Regions from separate parts of the Homo sapiens genome. Here region 2 is linked to region 1. Evidence: promoter capture Hi-C in 16 types of primary human blood cells and fetal thymus (Javierre and others, 2016). All regions are on one chromosome and are shown on one strand. The core of a region is centred on a gene start or on the middle of the fragment in contact, and the rest is flanking DNA. Distances in the headings are between cores, read along the strand shown. Region 1 holds the start of TSLP (thymic stromal lymphopoietin). Region 2 holds the start of TMEM232 (transmembrane protein 232).

Region 1 (6,162 bases), core at 30-2,529:
TGGACGGGGGAGCGGAAGGGAAAGAGAGAGAGAGGGGACCTGGGTGTAGAGAGGGCCCAGGGCCGCATGAGCCAAGCCAGGGAGGAGCAGGGGGTTCATCTCAGCAACCTGATCGGTGTCGGCCTTTCCCTCCCTTCAACCCTCCATTGGTGTTGCTGGAACTGGGAAGACTGCTAGACAGACATCCTCTAGGGCACTCTCCCTGACTCACTTTGCTGTGCTTTTAAGCGCTCTTTTCTGGATCAACAAGAGTTTGCTAGTAAAAATCTGAGCCCGCCATCTCGATGCTTCTCCTGTCTCTAAAACTGGTGCCCGGGCTGAGGCCCCAGGTGACAGACGTTTTCCAGTCTACGCTGCGCGGGGCTAAGCCTCTGCGAGGCAGAGCGCACTAAAGCGTGCGCCGCCTCCGGGAGAGCTGAGCTCAGGACAGCATCGTCTCCGTGCGGTCGCCGCTGGGCACCCAGCAGCGCGGTCTGGCTCCGCTTCTTGTGTCGCTGGCCTTAAGAGTGGGACTGTGAAGGTGGCTGGGCGCTGGAATTTGTGGTTTTAAAAGTTCTTGACACCTGCTAGAAAGTGCTAGAGGACTCTTCAGCCCCTAAGGTGCCCCTAGCCACCAAGAGTAGGCGTTTTTCCTGAAATTGATATGGGAAATTTGAAAAGTAGGGTTTTTGAGAACAAGCCACATCAGATCTTTCCCCACTTATTTCAACCTCTTATCGTTCCTGCCCCTAAGGTTCTGGTCACGGTTGCACATTTAATGCTTTCACATGGAAGTGCTGTCGAAGACTGAGACTGCACCCCACCCTCCAAAGCATCCCATAAGCAAGCACAGTTTCTTACTAGCCAAGGAGAAGGGAAAGCACTAGTTGAAAGTGGCCACAGGAAATGCTCAAAGATGTTCAGAATGCATGGGACATATGCAAGGACTCCAAATCCTTACAGTGGCTGCTGGTTTCAGAAGGTGTTTCTCCCAAATAGAAAGGATTGGTCACGGAAATGCCCTGTAGGAGAAAGACACTGGTATCCGTTTCTTAAAGGACATTCACACTTATGAAGTGTTTAGGGCAAAGCAAAAAGGAGGAAGGTGAGGGAAATTCCTGATGACTTTACTGATGTTAAAATTCCATAGATTTAGCTACTCCTTTTTTTTTTTCCTTTCACATCATCAATTCAGAATTCTATAAAGGAAGAGAATGACATGGTAGAAAATCATTGGCCTAGGAGAAAAGAGCCCGTAGGCGTTTAGGTGTTATATAGTGCAGCCAGAAAGCTCTGGAGCATCAGGGAGACTCCAACTTAAGGCAACAGCATGGGTGAATAAGGGCTTCCTGTGGACTGGCAATGAGAGGCAAAACCTGGTGCTTGAGCACTGGCCCCTAAGGCAGGCCTTACAGATCTCTTACACTCGTGGTGGGAAGAGTTTAGTGTGAAACTGGGGTGGAATTGGGTGTCCACGTATGTTCCCTTTTGCCTTACTATATGTTCTGTCAGTTTCTTTCAGGAAAATCTTCATCTTACAACTTGTAGGGCTGGTGTTAACTTACGACTTCACTAACTGTGACTTTGAGAAGATTAAAGCAGCCTATCTCAGTACTATTTCTAAAGACCTGATTACATATATGAGTGGGGTAAGTGAAGAAGCTTTTTTAAAACAAATGTATTTTCATCAGAGGAGTCGGCATACACACACTCTACAATTTAACTTTGTAGGAAAGAAAAATAATTTAGAAAAAATCATGGCCCCACATTTTGTCAAGGATTCTTACAAGTGATATTCAAATATCTAATCTAAAATGATTATCTAGAAATTGGCACATTCTAAGTGTGCAGATGCTGATGAGGAGCAGGTATTGATAGACAGCGCGTTATGCGTCAAAGGATGTCTATCCTTTGCTAAAGTGTTACTCTGACTATGCTGTAAAAAGCAGGAGGTAAGAGCTTAAGAAAGAGGAGTAAAAGAGATAATTCTCATGAGATAAACTCTAAGGATTGATGCTGTGCTCCAGGTCTCTCCAGTGTTTTAGATGTTTCAGGATGCTATTTATTACAGAATATGGTGTACTTGGAATTTTTTTTAACATACAGTAGTAATCATTTTCCTGATTAACCTAATTTCTAGACAGAGTTTGCATTCATGAATGGCCACAGTACAGATGCGGACATCCAAAGGATGGCATTATTACTCACAAGCATAGTGCTATGTGCAGTTATGGCTTGAGGGAAGGGAGGGGGGAGGTCGCCCTCTGAGACCTGAACCTTTTGGTGTGGTTTCAAGCACTAACCAGCACTATCTAATGGCTATTTCACTGCCTTGTCAATGACATAGGAAAAAGGTACCTGAGTGGAAACTGTTTTCAGGGCACCTTTAAAGCCTGGGAGCAAAGGGTGGAGGGATGATTTTCCTTGTGGACTTAAAAGTCTTTACCCTCTTTGTCCTATTTTTCTTTCTTCCAGACCAAAAGTACCGAGTTCAACAACACCGTCTCTTGTAGCAATCGGGTGAGTAGAGAGTTCAGTGCTGCTGGCTTTCTCCAGGGAGACGCCAGGCATTTTGGAGAGGGAGTATCCTGCTACGTGCAGAACTCCGAGAGGTGCCTGGGCTCCGGGACGCCGCCGCCGGGGGAAAGGGGACATCTGGGCTGTCAGAGCGGGGCTGCGCCTAGCTTGGGACAACACTTCTGTTCCAATTTAGGGAGAGGAAGTCTCTATCCGGAGGAAAGGCAAATTGGGAACTGGGACGAGGGAACGTTGTTAGGGGCACCACCTGCTGGGGTCCGGCGCCTCCGCGCTCGGGCTCGGAATTTTGGCAGCCTCCGCCCCCTGGAGACTTGGGAGGAGCGAGCGTGGGTGACAGTCTTTTCGCGACGAGTGCCCTCCGCCACCCTCGCCACGCCCCTGCTCCCCCGCGGTTGGTTCTTCCTTGCTCTACTCAACCCTGACCTCTTCTCTCTGACTCTCGACTTGTGTTCCCCGCTCCTCCCTGACCTTCCTCCCCTCCCCTTTCACTCAATTCTCACCAACTCTTTCTCTCTCTGGTGTTTTCTCCTTTTCTCGTAAACTTTGCCGCCTATGAGCAGCCACATTGCCTTACTGAAATCCAGAGCCTAACCTTCAATCCCACCGCCGGCTGCGCGTCGCTCGCCAAAGAAATGTTCGCCATGAAAACTAAGGCTGCCTTAGCTATCTGGTGCCCAGGCTATTCGGAAACTCAGGTAAGCCCGAAGCCTCAGACGTTTGCTGTACCTTGGGGCTAACCTCAAATTAAACTGGGGCTTTGGTGCAGAAGTCGTTCTCTTATTTTTATTTAGGTTTTATCTTTCGAAGAGCAAACGAGCCGGGTAAAAGTGGTAGGATGTCAGTTAGACCCACGTTGATACCCGGAATCAAACTCACCTATTTCTACGGTTCTGATACTGTTTTGGCTGAATTATGGTTCTAAACCTTAGGGCAATGTTTCAAGCTATGATGAGTGAGACTTCTATATCAGAATGTTTTGATTGCTGGAGCATAAGAGTATGGCTGCTAAAAATGCCAATTCCCAGGTACTCAACCCAGACCTTCAACATTAAAATCTCAGATTATGGGGCTCCTTAAGAGATTCTTGTCCAGTCCAAAGTTTGAGCAACACCTCTTGTTCTTATCACTTAATTATTGTGTGCTTATTTGCTAAATGTATAATTACATTATACATAAAATCTCTATCCTATGTTTGCTTAATTGCTTGTGTGGGCGCTATTGCTGTCTCTTTACACATTTTTGCACATGTAGTTATCTGCATTTGAATGCTCGTGTAGCATTAAATATGGAGATAGTGTAGTGGAAAGTTAGGCACAGGAACTCTGGAGACAACCTGCCTGACTTTGAATCCTGGCCCTATAACTTCTGTGAAGACTTAGTTAAATTACTTAGCCTCCGTGTACTGTAGCTTCATGGGTAAAGTAAGTATCATATCAGTTAGTCTTATACAGGTTGTTTCTGAGGATTAAATTAGTCAACACATGTAAATGCAGTTGGAACAGTGCCTGGTACACAACAGGCACTCAATATTTATTTCAGTCAGCAAGTAGAGGATTTATCTTCATGGTGACAAGTTTAAGGAACAGAGAGAGACAAGTGCAGATATGTTTGATTGCTCCTTATTAGCCTAGTGGACTTTATATGTCTACAGTCTAGGTAGATGGACACGACTGTCACTTTTTTTTTTTTTTTTTTTTTGAGACAGAATCTCGCTCTGTTACCCAGGCTGGAATGCAGTGGCACGATCTCAGCTCACTGCAACCTCCATCTCCTGGGTTCAAGCCTCAGCCTCCCGAGTAGCTGGAACTACAGGTGCCCGCCACCACGCCTGGCTAACTTTTGTATTTTTAGTAGAGACGGGGTTTCACCATATTGGCCAGGCTGGTCTCGAATTCCTGACCTTGTGATCTGCCTGCCTCGGCCTCCCAAAGTGCTGGAATTACAAGCATGAGCCACCATGCCCAGCCAAAACTGTCACTTTCTAGAGGTTGAGGATTGAAGCCATAGCGCTGATCTGGGTTGAGCTTGAATTAGAAACTCAATACCAGACAGCCATATGGGAAACCTATTTGGCTTCATGCCTTCTTATGAAGGAGACCCTGGCAAATCTGCAGATGGCTACAATAAAATTCATTTAAATAAGAGCACAAACAAAAAGCTAGATCAAGTTCTTGGACAGCATGTGAGAAAGGGAGAGTTTGGAGAAATTTATTTCAGTCCCTCCCAAGCCCAAATGGAGAGTCTAAGACTAATAATAATGATTTTGCAGGTTTTTTTAAGATTTGTGCTTAATAACCCTGTGACTTTATTAATTTGCATACCATGTGTCTAGGAGGCCCAGTGTACTACTCAAAGGTAATTCAGATAAAGGTATATACTGCAATCCTCTTTAAAATAAGCCCTCAGATGTCTGTGACACATCTAGACAATGGGGCAGGGGAGGGGGAAGGATGGGGAGCAGGAGCATGCATTTTGGGTCCAAAAAATAGACTAGGTTTATTGAATGATGTCTATAAACAGGTATAAGATAGCTCTTGCCCATGAGGAACTTGTGATCTTGTCAGGGAGGTCTTGAAATCAGCAATTTATTCATTTACTTAATCACTCAACAAATATTCAGTGTTTCCTATGATTAAGACACTGTATTCAGTGCTATGGGGAATACCTATGATGCAATATAAAGAAAAGCATGTTAAGTGAGAGCCAAGTTAAATGACACACACTCTTAAGTACTGGAAGAGTTTCCAAAAGCAAGGTCTGAGCAATTAGTGGAGGCTTTTTGAAGGAGGTGGTGCTTGGCCTTGAAGCAAAAGTAGGTGGGTACAGAAACAGGAAGGCATTCCCCTGGAAAAGGCACATGCTAGCACATAGTAAGCAGGTGCTTTGGAGACACACTGAAAGATGGATTTGCATAGAGAAGGCAATTAAACCTGCTCTCAACAGTTACTAAAGATAGTGAAAAGTAATTTTGACTATTGATTCTTATATTCTGCAGATAAATGCTACTCAGGCAATGAAGAAGAGGAGAAAAAGGAAAGTCACAACCAATAAATGTCTGGAACAAGTGTCACAATTACAAGGATTGTGGCGTCGCTTCAATCGACCTTTACTGAAACAACAGTAAACCATCTTTATTATGGTCATATTTCACAGCACCAAAATAAATCATCTTTATTAAGTAGATGAAACATTAACTCTAACTGTGACAAAGAAGACCACAAATAGTTATCTTTTAATTACAGAAGAGTTTCTTAACTTACTTTTGTAAGTTTTTATTGTGTAAGTTTATAATGCAGGGGAAGTACTACTCCTCAAATGTTGAGGGAAGCTTCCATAACATTGATGACTGGCTTCATGGCAGTAATTCTCGGCTGTAGTTGCATAAGCATTGCTCAAGAGGAAAATCCAAAAGTGCAGCAGGAGAACTCTTTTCCCTGAAAAAGGAAAAATATTGAACTCAATGATAGCACCTAAACTTACATTTAAAAGACAGACATTCCTTCTACATGTAATGACACTTCTTGTGTTAAACTAAAAATTTACAAGAGAAGAAAGTGAAAGCAAATGGGGTTTCACAAATAGTTGTAAATATAGTGAAGCAATTTGAAATAATTTTCAAGCAAAGTATTGTGAAAGTATTCTAAG
Region 2 (6,568 bases), core at 262-2,761, 350 kb before region 1:
TATAATGTCCTTGTCTTATTTTGGCATTAGGGTAATGCTGGCCTGAAAGAATGAGTTAGGAAGTATTTCCTCTGCTTCTATCTTCTGAAAGAAACTTGCAGATAATTGATATAATTTCTTCCTTAAATGTTTGGTAAAATTCACCAGTGAACCTATCTGGGCCTGGTACTTTCTGTTTTGGAAGGCTATTAATTATTGATTCCATTTCTTTAATAGTTATAGGTCTATTCAGATTATCTATTTTCTCCTTTGTGAGTTTTGGCAGTGGTTATTGTTTTTAATTGAAATTCCTTTAAGGCATTAGACCAGTTGACACATAACCTGAAGTCTATGTGTTCAATCAGAAACATACCTCAAATGTAAGAGACAGGTGGGGCTGTGTGCTTTCCTGTTTGGCAAAATATCTATTATATTTTTGTATCAATGTAATAGAGTTCAAATATAATAAATCATGGCTACTTCTTGGCTAGTACATTGATCACAAGTTGTTTATATTTGGGGGCCTACTGAGATTATTATCCATGGGTACCATTATGTTTAAATTAGACTCTAAATGAGTATCCTGAAAATCTCAAAATCTGTATAGACTGTTAGCTATTAGCAAAGCATTACTTCTGTTTACACAACTCTCCCTATATACATTATCATCTATACTCCTAGGGACTGCTATATCTCTTGGTACCACTAGCTTCCTATCCAATATTCACTCTTCCATTGTTTTATTAAAGCAACCCTAATTTTGTTTGGAGCAGCAAAGTCTCTGGCTAAAAAACATTTCTCCTGAAGCTTTCTTTGCAACTATGAGTTCTAGCTAAAGCTTAGTAGGGGATGTTGGTAAAGTTTACTTTCATGATAGAGGCACAGTACCTTCTTCCTTGTCCCTTCCCAATTTCTTTTACCTCCCTGGATGATAGACATAAGAATGGTGATAGAGCAGTCACCTTGCTATCAAGAGATGACCAGGAAGATGAAAACCACATACAAAGATGATGGGACACAAAGACAGAAGCCTGGAACATTTATGGCATTAGAGATGAACCACAGTCAAGTTGTTGGAGACGAGTTTCTGTTATATTCCATCAAATACAATCCTAGGATATCTCACACCTTCCTGAAAACCCTAGTTCAAACCTATTTCTTCAGTAAGCCTTCTGGGATGTAATAATAATAACTCTTGCATGGGACTTTATTGTTTGCAAAGTACTTTCACATACTTTATATCTTTCGATATTCACATCAGTCCTGTGGCCAGAATACCCTTCTCTTCATATTCTCACCTCTCTGGAGTTGATGCCATCCATCCCTATACTGTAAACCACACTGTAGAACAATGACTCCCAAGCAGCTGCCTCCAATCTTGACCTCTCTTGAGCTCTAGATTTGTTTTCCAACTGAATTCTGGGCACCCAGCTCAAAGACGAGTACTTGAAACATCTAAACTGTGTATAACTTAACCTGTTATTTTCTCATTTCAGGTCCCTAAACACTGCTCTTAATCCAGTATTATTTTAATAAATCTCAGTTAATATAATCACTCAAACTGACAAGCTAGAAATTTCAGAGTTATCCTCAATTCCATGCTCTCTATAACTTCCCAAAACAATCAGGAATCAAATCCTAGATCACGGCCACTGCCATGAGATTAGGTTCTCATCATTTTTCTGGTGGACTACTGTTAAGATCATTTAACTGGCCTTCTGCAGAAAGGCATCCTAAAAGATAAATCAACTATTTTTATTTATTCATTCACCAAATAGTTAAATGACTAGTCTTCTGCAGAAAGGAACTCTAAAAAAGAAATCAATTATCTTTTATTTATTCATTCACCAGATAGGTATAGAGCACCTGCTACATAATAAATATTATAATGTTAAAAATATGGTTTCAACAAAAAAACTTGCCATGTTATAGTAAGAAGCTAGTAATCCTAAAGTCGATATAGATTTAGCAAGTGATTTATTATATTACTGTTGAAAACGCAATGAAAGTAATAGGAATAAAATAATTTACTAAGGTGGTATATTTTTTAAAGAGATTTGTTTTCTTTGGTATTGTAATGAATCAGCAGGAAACATTTTAAAGAAATGAATTCATTTGGTTTTATGGAAATATAAGCAAAAATAAAAAGTGTGATATATAGTTTAGAACATTAATTTCTAAAATACATTCTGTAAAATACTGCTTCTTGGGATGAAACTACCTCGAAAAGCTTTCTGTTGTGAAATGTTTGAGAAACCACTGGATTAGACAAAAATAAGTAGGTTTGCATATACTAAGATTTCTCAGTGTTAATATTCTCATATATACTCTACATCTCTCTGAGTAGCAGTGTGACATGTAGTACTTTAAAATTTATTGACTAAAGAAATCTTTAGAACATCATCTCCTAGAACTACATACAGGACACATTTTGGAAAATGTTAAGCATTTGTGAGCAGACACTTTACCAGGAGCTCTGGATGGACAATGAACTTCAAGACAGGAACATTTATCAAATTTATCATAACAATGAATGATTCTGATAATGAATCAGACGTTCAGCAAGAATATAGCACTACTCATTAAGATCATAAGGGTCCATGCAGAATAGGTCTTAGTGAAATAAAAATCTGCTACCTTCAATCAAGTATGTATGTGGATTACCCAAACCAAGAATGTTTATACTTTAAAGAGAAATGTTTCAGCTCATGAAATGGCTCCAGCAGTCTGCCTGGGTGCTTGGCAGTTCATCTGCAACCTGGCACAGACCCAGATTTCTTTTTTTAGTTTTACTATTAATTCTTCATGTATTTTTTTAAAGTTCCAATAAAAATGAGGTTGAAACTGTATACTTTAAAAGACAATTTCTGAAAAACAGATAATATTAAAATTATATCAAGACTTTGGAAAGGTAACATGCATTAGAGAATATAAGATTTAGACTCTAACCTGAGGAAGCAAATTATTTGACCAACCAAATGATAGAATTTGTTCAGACATACTGTTAAGATGGTAAGGTAAATAAGAGACTCTTACTACAGTCTTATCCCCTCCTAGAAATTTTTCTAATAGACAACTTGGATATTTTTCTCAAGATTAACGGCTTTTAAAAATTGTTTTATTACACATCTCCAATATACCCCCCTCTCTCTTTCACACACACACACACACACACACACACACACAGAGCGCCAAATTTTTGAACCTTCTCTTTTGAAGTCCAAGAGTCTTCATACTAAATAAATAATAAATAAATAAAAATCAAAAAGGTGCAATTTCACCAACCACAGAGGATGTGTGAAGACTGGTCTTCTGAATTCAAGGTTGCCCCAGGATAAGCGAGTCCAGGGGAGATTAAATGAATTTCCCTATTCATAGCAATAAGAAAGTTCCCACCTCCTTTATTCTCCCCAACAAAAAAGCTTCCCCTATCAAACGACCTGGTGGCTTTTCCAGGATGGACTGCTTAGACTCTTAGGAGGGGCCCAGATAGCAGGCCCAGCCTGGGGTTGCGAGTAGTGTTTCTTCTAACAAAGCTATGGCACCCTGAGAAAGGAGGCTCAGTATTCCCCTGTGAGGATCTTTGTGGGTCTTTCAGTTGCCCTAGGATGGTGAATATGACAATAACCTGAGCTCCCAAATCATCTGAAGCAGGACCTCTTAATCACTCACCGCTGCGCTCTGAGCCGCTGGGAACCAAGGCTGGTTGCTAAGGACGCTGTGGGAGTCGCTCTGAGACAGACGTTGCTCTTTTACGGTCTCGTGACCAGGGCTTAGCCAATCAGGACTTATAAGTGAATTTCCACCTGCCCTGTCCCGTCTCCACCACATTTGTGTTCAATTTCTAAAGAATAAATGCAATGTTGTGTGAAAGACCTTTATTCGTTTTTAAAGAACATAGTAATGATTTGTTTCGAATATTGTACATACTTGCATATCCTGCAAGAAGCCACGGCAAGAAGCGGCTTCACAGTGCTTTAATGTCTCCTCAGTGTCTTAATGCTGCTTCCCCAAAACAAACCAGCACGCCTATCATACCAAAAGTAGCTATGTCTTTAAATTAAATTGCCGTTCGTAAGTTCCTTTTACATAGAAAATTTGGAGCAGTCAGTGTCCTCAGCACCCGTCAGTGAGTAAACAAAGCACCTAGAATGTTCTGCTATGTACTAAACACCAGAGGGCGAATTTAAACACAAAAGAACGCCTCTTTTTAAAGGTAGTATGCAATAGAATTATCTAATATAAGTCCTTTAAAAATCCTTGTAGAATTCCTATGTCTACTAACGAGCAACTGTATATATTTTACAAAGGTTCACCAGTGTAAAATACTATATGGAAGAATGGGGAAGGGCATTTATGATTAAATTCATACGTAGGCCGGGCGCAGTGGCTCATGCCTGTTATCCCAGCACTTTGGGAGGCCAAGGTGGGCGGATCACGAGGTCAGGAGTTCGAGACCATCCTGGCTAACATGGTGAAACCCGTCTCTACTAAAAATACAAAAGTTAGCCAGGCGTGGTGGCACCCACCTATAATCCCAGCTACTCAGGAGGCTGAGGCAGGAGAATTGCTTGAACCCAGGAGATGGAGGTTGCAGTGAGCCGAGATCATGCCACTGCACCCCAGCCTGGGAAACAGAGCGAGATTCCATCTAAAGAAAAAAAAAATACTAAAACGTAATATACAGGGATTGTCCTGTGAAATGACCTGCCTTTAAAAATTAGAACTTTGAAAGAAAATTTAACTTGAACTACTTCGATTCGGAATTAAGTTTTTTTGTTTTTTGAGTGCATTTTTATGTTTAAAACAGAAATTACAATATGTGATCTCAGGCTTCTCTGACGTATCACTCCTAGAAGATCAGTAAGTTAAAGGTAATAATGAAAAGTGAAATTGACAAAGACTATAAACTACATATGTGAGAGAACAAATCCTAGAATATCAACAGTGCTTACCATAATCCAGATAAAATAAAAATGAAAAGACTGTGGTATTTAATAATAGCCTGGGGGCTTGCTTGTTTTAATTTCAAGAGATCTAGAAAAGTGTTAAAAGCATAAAAAAATACAAACTGTTAACCAGGTTATTCATAATCAAATGAAGATTGAATTAAAAAGGAATAAAAGGAAGGCCGAATAAAAAATTCTTCTCCATAATATAAGAATCAGTTGAAACTATAGCATGTTTAGAGAAAAAAAGTCACCCCATCGATTCTACAGTGAAGACAACAGAACAAGTTTATATAAGGAAGAATTCACAAATACATATATATATATATTACACATATCTACTTATTCTAAATATATCTACTGATTTTATATATGTATCTACTGATTTTATTTATATATATATCAGTAGAATGAAAGATTACAGAAAAAGCATAAAATTTATATATGATAAATTTGCCATTTTAACTCAGTGGGGAAAAACTGTACAGAGGCTGAGCACAATTTGAAAGAAAATAAATCTGAACTACTATCTCATACCATAGCAACAATAAATCTCAGAGGAATGAAGCTTAAAACAGGAAATAATTTTAAATAATTTTAAGATAATATTGGTATAACCTTAGAGTCACAATAATATTAAGCTAATAGGAGACCCACAATGATTTTAAAAAATGACAAGAATATTTAGAAAATTTATGTAAGAAAAATAAATCTAATAAAGTCATACCTCCCCTTTCTCCCTTTAATTAGTCATCTACATTGAAGTTTTGACAAGACAAATCTAATTTTTTCAAATTATTATATATATACCTATATATATATAATCCTAAAATGGCCATTAATTAGCAATTAGGAAAATAAGCATGTCAAAACCATCCTAACCCCTTAGTATGGCACAATTATGCTTTCAGAAACTATATCATTGCCTACTTGCCCAGTTTTTTTCTGCTTTTTTTTTTTTTACCAGTCTTTTTTATTTTATTTTATTATTATTTTTTGAGATGAAGTCTCGCTTTTGTCCCCCAGGCTGGAGTGCAATGGAGCGATCTCAGCTCATTGCAACCTCCACCTCCTGGGTTCAAGCGATTCTCCTGCCTCAGCCTCCCGAGTACCTGGGATTACAGGCGCCTGCCACCACGCCTGGGTAATTTTTGTATTTTTGGTAGAGACAGGGTTTCACCATGTTGGCCAGGCTGATCTCGAACTCCTGACCTCAGGTAATCCACCCACCTTGGCATCCCAAAGTGCTGGGATTAAAGGCGTGAGCCACCGTGCCTGGCCCAGTCTTCTTTATTTTTAAAACTTTTTCCACTGCTATGTAATCAATTAAAAAATATTTTAAGTTTCCTAAACATATCATGAGCTCTCGTTTCTTAATAACCTCATGCATGCTCTTCCTCTGTCTGAAAATATACTTGCCCACTCACTCCTCAACTGCTGCCACAAACTCACACAAACGCATACCACCCCCTGCTCCCTAATAACCACACACCAGGTAAATGCTTACTCTTGATCAAGACTCGGATGTTAGACATTTGTCAACATTTTGGATCTGGAGAATCCAATCACCCTTCCATGCTACCTGGGGAATTCTTCATGTAATATGAATGGGAAGTGGTGTTTCATCATCCACTACAAAA

The links. The method cuts DNA at HindIII sites, captures the fragments that hold promoters and counts their contacts. A CHiCAGO score of 5 or more calls a contact.
Region 2: a fragment that was not itself captured here is called in contact with the fragment with the promoter of TSLP in region 1 in 1 of 17 cell types (M2 macrophages); the score reaches 5.6 in M2 macrophages.

Annotation. Positions count from the first base shown.
Region 1 is chr5:111,070,434-111,076,595 of GRCh38, forward strand. It overlaps TSLP (thymic stromal lymphopoietin), which reads left to right and starts at 1,280. Exons shown (of 4, transcript NM_033035.5): 1 at 1,280-1,628; 2 at 2,455-2,499; 3 at 3,078-3,212; 4 at 5,513-6,162. The coding sequence starts at 1,458. The coding sequence ends at 5,641. The HindIII fragment of the contact is 3,260 bases long and covers 1-1,639 here.
Region 2 is chr5:110,722,976-110,729,543 of GRCh38, forward strand. It overlaps TMEM232 (transmembrane protein 232), which reads right to left and starts at 3,696. Exons shown (of 14, transcript NM_001039763.4): 1 at 3,652-3,696. The HindIII fragment of the contact is 1,392 bases long and covers 816-2,207 here.